Regions from separate parts of the Homo sapiens genome. Here all the other regions are linked to region 3. Evidence: promoter capture Hi-C in human tissues and cell types (Jung and others, 2019). All regions are on one chromosome and are shown on one strand. The core of a region is centred on a gene start or on the middle of the fragment in contact, and the rest is flanking DNA. Distances in the headings are between cores, read along the strand shown. Region 1 has its middle 46 kb from the start of SMIM21. Region 2 overlaps LOC107985177 (a long non-coding RNA gene). Region 3 holds the start of SMIM21 (small integral membrane protein 21).

Evidence for each region. The method cuts DNA at HindIII sites, captures the fragments that hold promoters and counts their contacts. A contact is called where the count stands out against the background at its distance.
Region 1: a contact is called between a fragment that was not itself captured here and the fragment with the promoter of SMIM21 in region 3, in 1 of the 25 tissues and cell types used here (adrenal gland).
Region 2: a fragment that was not itself captured here is called in contact with the fragment with the promoter of SMIM21 in region 3 in 2 of the 25 tissues and cell types used here (lymphoblastoid cells and spleen).

Annotation. Positions count from the first base shown.
Region 1 is chr18:75,379,832-75,383,106 of GRCh38, forward strand. No RefSeq gene overlaps it. Among named protein-coding and RNA genes, the nearest start is that of SMIM21, 46 kb to the right of the region's middle. The HindIII fragment of the contact is 5,378 bases long and covers 1-3,275 here.
Region 2 is chr18:75,460,178-75,463,562 of GRCh38, forward strand. The region is part of intron 2 of LOC107985177 (a long non-coding RNA gene); the gene reads left to right. Among named protein-coding and RNA genes, the nearest start is that of SMIM21, 34 kb to the left of the region's middle. The HindIII fragment of the contact is 3,774 bases long and covers 234-3,385 here.
Region 3 is chr18:75,425,763-75,429,117 of GRCh38, forward strand. SMIM21 (small integral membrane protein 21) reads right to left here and starts at 1,941. Exons shown (of 3, transcript NM_001037331.3): 1 at 1,673-1,941. The coding sequence starts at 1,801. LOC105372200 (a long non-coding RNA gene) reads left to right here. Exons shown (of 4, transcript XR_935636.3): 4 at 1-899. The HindIII fragment of the contact is 8,486 bases long and covers 1-3,355 here.

The DNA.
Region 1 (3,275 bases), core at 33-2,532, 47 kb before region 3:
TCAACTTAAATAGAATGGGTTTGCTTTACTGGGAGGTAAAATAAAATGTTCCTCTTTCAATTACTAGAAAATGCCATTGGATTCAACTGTAGCAGTTTTGGTGTTTCCTTCCTGTAACAGCTCTCCTGCTAATCATGTTTCTTTCTCATATCGCTTCCTGTTCGCTTACAGCCCATTAATTGATCATTAAAGTCCTCCTCAATTTCATTGAGTACCCAACTTCCCTATTTTGGTGTCCTCACAAGGCAAATGTTTACAAGATTGTTATTTTTCTTCTTCACTTAAAAAATGAAACTGACCCATCAATTTCTGTGAATCTTTCTGCCACCCTCCCTAAAATCCACTTTACTTTAGCCATGTCTATGGTCTACTAGGGCAAATATTCAAAAACCTCTAAGCTACTTAAAAACTAAAACCAACTTTATTGATGTACAATTTACATTCCATCAAATAGTTACCTGTTTTCACTGTACAGCCCAATGAATTATAGGAAATTTACATAATTGTGCGACCATCACCATAATCTAACTTTAGAACATTTCCATCAAACCCCACAAAGAAACTCCATGCTCATTAGTAGTCATTCCCCCCTTTGGCTACCCAGCCCTAGCCAACCACTGCTGTAATTCCTGTCTTAATTGGTTTGCCTATTCTGGACGTTTCAAGTAAACAGAATCAAATAATTTGTGGTTTTATGTGTCTGGCTTGTTTCACCTAACAATGTTTTTTGAGGTATATCTGCGTTGTAGCTTGTATCAGTACTTCATTCTTTTCCATGGCTGAATAGTATTCCATTGTATGGATATAGCACATTTTATTTATCCGTTACCAGTTGATGGCCTTTTAGGTTGTTTCCACTTTCAGCCCTAATTTTACCCAGGTGCCGGACTACTTGAATAAGTCCATTATTATAAATCCTTCTTTCTCTGTTACAGGCCATACAGCTTGTCTATTTCCAGGAAGCCCGGAGGTCCTCAAGCACATATGTATTTAAAACCTCCTCTTTCCGGTCCTCATTTCCTTCAGATCATCCTCCTAATGCCTCTCCAGCTTGTGGTCTGTAATTAATTAAGTCAACCAAATAATGTATTTTGTATAAAAAAGCCAGGAGATAAAACTGATTGCTTGATTTAAAATTGGTCAAAGAGATGAACAAAAATAATTAACGCAACCCATCCCTGGACAGCACAACCCTAAAATCACTTCTGCTCCCTGATTTGTACATCTTTGCTCACTGACCATCTGGACCTTTCTCTTAAATGCTGACTGCAAATGTCTCTCTAATATAGCAAGCTGCTGAAATCTTTAGCCAAGGATCTTCCCGCTAATTCTGAGCATGTGATGTTATTGAAGACTGGCCTCTGCTCTGCCTCTGACACCAAGTCCCCATCTGGGTTCCAAGGAAGGCTGCTCTGTTTGCTTGCATCTAGTTTGAGTTCATTAGGATCTGAATATTTTTGCACTAAAAGAAATAAAACATATTTTGGAGTAGTTAGAGCATCTTGGAGAGTTGAATTTTGGGAACATGTTTGTGCCTTCTCACTTCCCATAATCAGGAAGTTGCTGGAACCAACGATGTTAACGTGTAGCTTTGAGACATGAGTCCTGCCAAAACTCCTCCGTGTGAACTGCTGCCTTCCACGTCCAACCGACATGGCTTTCCTCTCTCCAGGTTTCCTTCTGGATCACCAGGTCACTCCCTGTCAATGTCCTCAAGAGCCAACCTAGAGGATTATCTGTCCTTCAGGAGGAAATCAGGCCAGGAGCAGTAACTGAAGATGGGAGCTTTGTTTGTTGTCTGTTTTCTGTGATTACACCAGGGTCACAAAAGTCACAATGGTGAACTCTGCACAAGAAGGGCTATGGTTTATCCCTGCCTCAGCTCTCGCTGGGCCTCTGCTCGAGAGCTCGCTGCCCCAAAGATCAGCCCCAAGATGGGGTCTGTTTCTTTCCATTGATGAATCTCTTCTCAATGTAGCCATTCATGACAAAAATGGCTACAGGAACAGAAATGGCTCCAAATGAAGCCATTCTCATGACAAAGACGGTAATGAGGACCAAAAAACGGCACAAAATCAATTTATTCTCATGACAACCTTAAGATTGTAATGAGGACAAGAAAAACAGTCTGAAATTTATCAATTCTTGTGACAACCTTGAGACAGTAACGAAAGCGGCAAATGGTATGAAATTGGCCCACTCTCTTGACAAACAGTGAAACAAAACCGGAAAATAGCACCACATTTACCTACCCTATAGACAGCCCAGCGACTGGAACAAGAAGAGAAAAGATTACAAGATTAACCCATTCCTGTCAAAAATAATCTTGAAAGGGTAGCCTCCCACATGTCCTTTAACAATGACCGCATCTAGGTAGAGTTACATGTTAACTCCAGACTTTGCTGTGAGATGGAATTCTTGTTCGCTTGGATTCCCAGTTGACAGTCACGTTTCTTTAGGATCTGTGAAAATTAACTTGTACTGATATTACGGGCTAGGCAATGCGACAGTCACTCTAGATCAGCTTTTATTTGATGGTCTTAAAGTGCTCTCTCAGTCTGGACTTATTAAAAGGATAACGCATAAGGCATATAAGCATTGCAACAGTGATATGGACAATCATTCTAGAAATACCCACGAAAGTGACAAGTGAAAGGGACGGGGAATGGAGGCAACTTTCCGAGTCAGTGGAACAGTTGCTGCTGCATATTCCATAGAAAAATGGAGTTTTGGGGTGTGTGTTACTGAACCAGTATCTGTTCCTCAACCTCAATTTAGCTTTCTCATGCATGTAGGAACTCACAGATATTCTCAAAGAAGACATTGGAGAAGAAGAGCTCCTCAGCAGAGTGAGCATTCACTACAACACAGCTTAATGATTTGGGATCACCTGGTTGCTAGTTAATAATCCAGATACGTGATTTAGTAGGTCTGGAAGTGGAGAATACCAGGAATATACACATTTAAAAAAGAAAATGTCATTTTTGAGCATGCTGAAGTTGGAGAAGCATCAATTTATTGTGTGCAAAGGTACTGGTTTGCAGAAGCTGGATTTATGATTCCTAATCAAAGACTTCACTCACTAATTCCTTCCTGCTAAAACTGCTAAGTTCCATCCTTGACATCACTGATGAGTAAGTAGCAGAGGGCCAAGTTTTAATGTCAATTCAAGTGCCAGTCAGCTTTTCCAGGGCTTATAATAATTATTGATGAGTGATTGAATGACAGAGATTGGAAGTAATGGCTTGCTTTGCTTGGCTGGCAAGTACAGAGAT
Region 2 (3,385 bases), core at 871-3,370, 35 kb after region 3:
ACTTAAATCAGAAGACAGGATTGCAGATGGAGGAAGGGGCTGCCAACCAAAGATGGTGGGTGACCTCTAGAAGCTGGAAAAGGAAGGAATGGATTCTCCTCTCCAGCAAACAAAGAAACACACCCTGCCTACAGCTGGATCTTAGCTCAGGGAGACCCGTGTTTGATTTCTGACCCACGGTACAGCAAGATGATAACTCTGTGCTGTTTCAAGTCTGTAGGTTTGTGGTAATTTGTTGTAGTAGTAATAGAAAGCCAACATAAGCACTAAGTGAAATAATTCTTTCTTCATTTTTTAGAACATTTGACTTTTGATGTCAAAAACTAGAATTTTACATTTTTTAGAATTTTGTTCCAGAATGTTGTCCATATTGCATAAAGTTGTGTCATTTCCTACTCAAACAAAGACTATCTACCTGAATGCTTGCAACACGACAAGAATAATAACAGGTAAAACCATATTTCCCCTGGTGGCTTTTTTTCTTTTCCTGGAAAATATTTCATATATCTGTGGTATGGTTGTAATCTTCCTGTTTTAGATCAACACTTGTGTTCATGCTGCTATTTTCAGAAGCTTGAGATCATCTAAATCATTTAATGTTATTGGAAGTGTAGTGATGTAGACATGGTGTTGCCTCCCTCTAACTCATCCTGAATTTGCAGCATGATCGTGTTAGAGCTCTTGCTCCGCTAGTCTCCCTTTTCCACCCTCCCCTCCCTCTGCTCCAGGTTCCTTATGATTTGAGCTCCTGGGTTTCCTGGTCTATACAAACTTCAGCATCTCTGTCTACCAGTCGTAGGATATAATGACCCCTGTCTTAGTCCATTTGGGCTGCTATAACAAAAGGCCATAGGTTGTGTGGCTTATAACCTACAGAAATTTATTTCTTACAATTCTGGAGGCTGGGTACAGTGCCTGGTGAGGCCCTGCTTCCTCACTGTGTCTTCACATGGCAAAAGGGGTGAAGGGGCTCTCTGGTGTCTTTTTATAAGGACAGGAATTCCAATTATGAGGGCTTCACCCTCATGACCTAATCACCTCGCAAAGGTCCCGCCTCCTAATAAGATCACATTAGGGTTAGGATTTCAACATATGAATTTTGGGGGGACACATTCAGCCCATTATAGGGATTTGATAGTCCCCATGGTTAGTATCTTACCTAATCAATCTTACCTAATTACCCCTAGATGCAAGATACCAAGGCATTTAAATATGTCTCACAGAGTTGGGTTTGACAGTCAAATAAAACCATTAGATTTGTAAGTTAAGTGTTAGAAAATTATAACAACTATTCCCCACCTTCCTTCATGAAGGTAGTGGAAAACAGAAGCAAGTCCAAGTCACCTTGTCCTAAATGCAAATGAATTTCTCAGAAAATTGAAGAGGATGAGAATAATGCTGTGAACTGAGATGCTTCTCAACCTTCCCTCCCTCCCTCCCTCCCTCCCTCCCTCCTTTCTTCCTACCCTCCTCATGGCAAAGGAGAGAGTAATTGCCCAGCATATGCAAGCAAAGCCCATGGCAGCCCGGAAAATGAAGATTTTTTTTTTTTGGCACAAAATTCATAGCGATTTGACATCAGGATTCCAACATGTCTAGCTGTATTTTAACAAAAAAATAAAGATTCAAGTAACTCATTAGCTAACTGGCCTGACCTCCTAGCCCTTCATCATGTTATCTGTGTGGCTTGGTTTTCCAGCCTGCAGGTGAGGCTCACCACGTGGCAGCTCCTCTTAGATAAACTATCAGCCAGGCACCCAATAAGCATGCAATTGAGGTCATTGAGAAAGTAGGGAACATGGACACATGGACACATATGCAACCATCCACACATGCACACATATGCAACAACCTACACATGTACACGATACACAGGCAATGCAAAGTGGCCTATGCATGCACACATAGATGCCCTTGGCTCCACTGGTTGGAGGAGTAGCTACACTGTGAAAGGCAAAAGAAAAACATTTAGTTGCCCTCAGGCAGGGAAGCAGAGTTAACTTGATTGGAGCTCCCCTCTACCTGAGACTCTGGGGAAGGTCAGATACACACACCCATGTTTACTGTGCAGATCCACCGTCACTTTTCCCATTGAGGGTGATGCCAGTGGGCCAGTGTTGTTGTTCTTCATTGTTTTTCCATGCTTCGGTGGTAGATGGGGTGGAGCCACCCCTCTGGGGAAGCCCAGTGTGCTTAGACATGGCGGGAGCAATCTCTTCCTGGGCAAGAGGGCGCTGTTACTACGGGATTAGCCTGTCTATTATTTTTGGGTGTGCACAGGGTGACAAATTAGGAAGGGTGTGCTCAAAGGTTATTCAAATATTTCAAATAAAGCATATTTGAGCACGGAAAGGCCAGGGAACATTAATCAAATGTCAGCACCAAGACACTTTGTAGGCTATTTCTGGTATGTGTTTGCTGAGCGGCAGTCTGGCTTAGGCTCTGTGGGACATGTGATCACCCCAGTGTGAAGAAACGTGGAGCATTATGCATGGGAGGCCCTGGAAGCACTGGGAATTTGCAGATGGAGTGCAGTGGACAGGATGTGTTCCGAAACAGCCCGGAGTCATTCCTCTGAAGCAGATACAAAGGGATGTAGGATTGTGTTGACTGACAAGGCCAGAGTCTATTTCCATTCCTGCCCCTCTTGGGAAGTTAGATTAAAGGGGGAAATATTTTGCATAAAAGTGATTTTAACAGAGTAATGACTGAAATGATAATATGCCGGCGATGGGCATCCATCACAGTAATGAAATAGCCTCCTATAGGAGTCCTGCAACTGGCCGTTTCCCCCCAGAAGCAGTGTTCCCTCTCCACATCACCCTCTTGGATCCTTTCTGATCTGCCTCACTGAGGCTTCCTTCTTCAGAAAGCCAAGCGAGCAAGCAATATTGCCTTTCTCTCCTTCAGCTCCTATCAAAACAGTGCAGCAGCCCCAGTCACAAACTCAAGAGTCTTTTGACAGCAGCAATTAAGCAACTTAATTAATGAGTGAATAAAAACGATAATATTTACTGAATGGGAGCATCCTGTTTTGCATTTTTATTCAAACTCTGCACCTGAAGAACACCACTAAGGAAAGCTCCCCATCCCCCTGTTGTAGAGACAACCCCCTCTCTGTCTCTCTCTCTCTCTCTCTCTCTCTCTCTCTCTCTCTCTTCCTTTGCTCTGTCTCTCTCTCTCTTGCTTCCTTTGGTTCTGGCCTCATAAACACCCCAAGGGTAAAACACACACAGTGTAAGATTCACACAAGGCTAATCCCTGTCCTCTTTCCGGGGGAATGCACTTCTATCTTTGTCATGGTCTTTGTTCACCCCTAAAAATCCTCATTCATACATGAAGGACAATTTCATGATACTTTTCTGAGGCTGAACTTTACATCAAA
Region 3 (3,355 bases), core at 691-3,190:
TCAGATTATATGTAAGTTCCCATCCTGCTGAAATCTCTTCAGCAGCAAGTTAACCTCCAACCTAAGAAAGATGGAAGAAATCAAGAGTTGAAGATGGAGGGGACAGGGACAGTCTCTGTATCTGTGTGCTCCCTGAGGTGGGGGCCCCTGCCTCTCCCATCTTTGCACTCCTCATGCCTACTGTGTACCTGGTGCAGACCAGCTGCCCTGAAATGTTTGAGGTGCTGTGTTACCATTGCCTCTTTTGATTGCCCACCGAGTGCCTCCTGAGTCATGCACCCCATCACAGCCCTCACGCAAGGCCTGGAGACAAACCCAGCACACACCGGCCTAGTATTAATTCATAACCATCATCATGTACCTAAGATTCTACCTACCTGGATGTTGATTGATGAAATTTATAAAGTATTAGAAGGACTTCAAATCGACTTACAACTATCACATATGAAATGCACAAAACCAGCTTTTAAAGCCTTCTATAATTTGTTTAAGACTGAAGAACTTTAAGACCATTACTTTTATTTATTTATTTGTTTGTTTGTTTGTTTGTTTGTTTGTTTTTTGAGGGACAGAGTCTCGCTCTGTCACCCAGCCTGGAGTGCAGTGGCACAATCTCGGCTCACTGCAAGCTCTGCCTCCCGGGTTCACACCATTCTCCTGCCTCAGCCTCCCAAGTAGCTGGGACTACAAGTGCCCGCCACCACGACTGGCTAATTTTTTGTATTTCTAGTAGAGATGGGGTTTCACTGTGTTAGCCAGGATAGTATCAATCTCCTGACCTTGTGATCTCCTCGCCTCGGCCTCCCAAAGTGCTGAGATTACAGGCATGAGCCACTGCACCCGGCCCTAGACCATTACTTTTAAAATGTAAAAAAAAAAAAAAAAAAAAAAAAAAAAAAAAAAAAAAAATGGAAAAAGGAAAAGGAAATAAAGAAGCAGCAGTGGGGATCAAGACAGAGGAAGGAGATGCTACCTGCCTGCTCCCATCCATCTCCTCTTCACAGTCAGAAACACTAAGAGGAACCCTGTGCTACAGGAGAAGACATTCCAGAAATTTTGTCTTAGGACTTTAACCTTTCCGATATATGACTGGGTCATAAACTTCCTTTTCAGAAGCTATTGATCACCCCATCACCTCTGCAAATGGGGTGTCTATAAATGCCATCTGTTGCCTGCACATTGGCTACTGGTTCATGAATGGTTAAATTTGTTGCAACTTTTGCTTCTGTCCTGTAATGAAGGAAAAGAAACTTTCTTCTAGGAGTGCAGTATCAAATTTGTCTGGGTAGGTTGAGTTTGTAGGTGTTGCAGGTGCACCTAGGCTTAAAGCATTTGGAGGTATCCTTGCATCTGTGTTAAGAGGCTCTCTCTGTAGGGGAGAGATCATTGACTCATTGGCCTGTATACTGATGTAATGTCAAGGGGAGGGCCCAGTACCTTTTCTGAAAGGGGCAGCTCTTCCTCAGATTGGGAATTGGAATTGGGAGGTTGTCTTGGCCAGAACTGAGAAAGAAAGAGCTCTGGATTGACGTCTCATCTTAAACTTCGTAGAATCTGGATTTGAGAGACAGAGCACTCACAGGAGATTGGGGCAAAAGAGTGCTTTGTAGGACCATACCTGTGCAGTGATACGTCTCTCTCATAACCCAAAGTTAAAGACCCATAAACTCACTGTGGTAAGTGCTTTCTTCTGCAGCAAATTCCCCTTGAATATCCGTCCCATTCCTGCAGAGTCTTGTTTAAATGTTCCCAGCTGTGCTATAGGGAATCGGGGAGGAGCTGTGGACACATACTGGTCCATGTGGGGGCTGCGGCGGTGACCAGTGAGAGGTCTCCTTGATGACAGCGACTCTGAGGACACAGAGCTGGTGCTATAAGACCTGGTAACTAAGTTCCCAAGGAGCTTTTCTCTTCTTTGCCAACCTTGAAGATCTGGGTATTATTTTATGAAGCTGGATGGAATCTTCCCACATGTAGAGTTCTCAGGTCCAGGTATTATTTTATGAAGTCGGATGGAATCTTCCCGCACATGGAGTTCTGAGGTTTCTCAGGTTGCTCTCTGGCTCAGTGATGCTGTGTGAGAATGTTCAACCATATCTCCACAGCACAAGCTTTGGATCTGATGTCAAGAAGCTTTTGTGAATATTAAAAATGAACCGCATCTCCCTGAATCAAAATAAATACTACTATATGCACTTCAATGGAAATAAAATCTGGGATTCTTTTTGGGCCCTAAGCAAAATGTAGAAATTCATTTTCCCATCAGACTTTTCAGTAACTTTCTTTTAACCTAATGAGACACTCCACAGGAGACTAACATTTCTTTCGCTGAATTCCAAGTGTAGGTTTCCTGGGTTGTCCATTTAATTGTTAAAGTGAGAGAGATTCTGCTGGAAGACAAGCACCATGGAACAGCAGGAGGAAAGCTGAATGGAGGTTACTTGGGAGCTACCCCAGGAAGAAGCGCTGTGCAGACCATCATCGCAGGGTGGAGAGTAGCCATGAGACGTGTGTGGTGGCCTCTGGATGCTGCTGTGCTGCCTCATGGGAATTTTCACAGATCTTCCACTGTTTGTAAATGGTGCCCAATGAGCGGAAAATTAAGTGGTACTTAACACACACACGTTCACCAAATACTTGCAGCGTTATCCCCATAGTGTGGATGGCTTTTGACAAGGTGCCTGATGAAGAGAGATGCACATAGTTGTGAGTCCCAGCCTACAGAAGCTCATGATGGGTGCTCCACAGTGTTGGTGTTGAGTAAAAATGCCCAGGACAGTATGCACTGTGCTTGACGCACAGTATGACTAAGAAAATACCTGTTATTATGTGAACAGTGACCATATGCACAGCATACAAATCAGTAGCCCAGTGCTGTTCTGATGGTCTTGTCCTGAGTGGTTTTTCCCATCTAGTTGGAGACAAGACTCATTCTCTAGAAAGAAGAGCAAAAAATGGTGGGTCCCACCAAGGCCATGGACAAGGGAAAGGCAGAAACGTGCAGAGGGAGCAGAGACAGAGGAGGCTTGAGACCTGTGTGGAGGGACAGGAAGGGAGCTCGGAAGCCCGTTTTGTAGCAGATCCCAAATTGTGAAAGTTGATAGTTGTGGAGCACACATATGCAGAGTAACATCTAGAATTCTCAGAGTTGGTGATTTAAAGAAAAGAGAAAAAAAAAACACTGACTAAAAATTAATCTTCAATTTCCCACAGGCCTTAAACTTCCAGCTGCTAAAAGACAGTGGGGTGTAGGGGGTGGAAAGAGACCTCATCTAGGAGGGACAGCTTGGTCTATGACAGTTGAGACAGGTGCCAAGGAGGGACGAAGTTGCTCTCTGCCAACTAGACTTAGGGG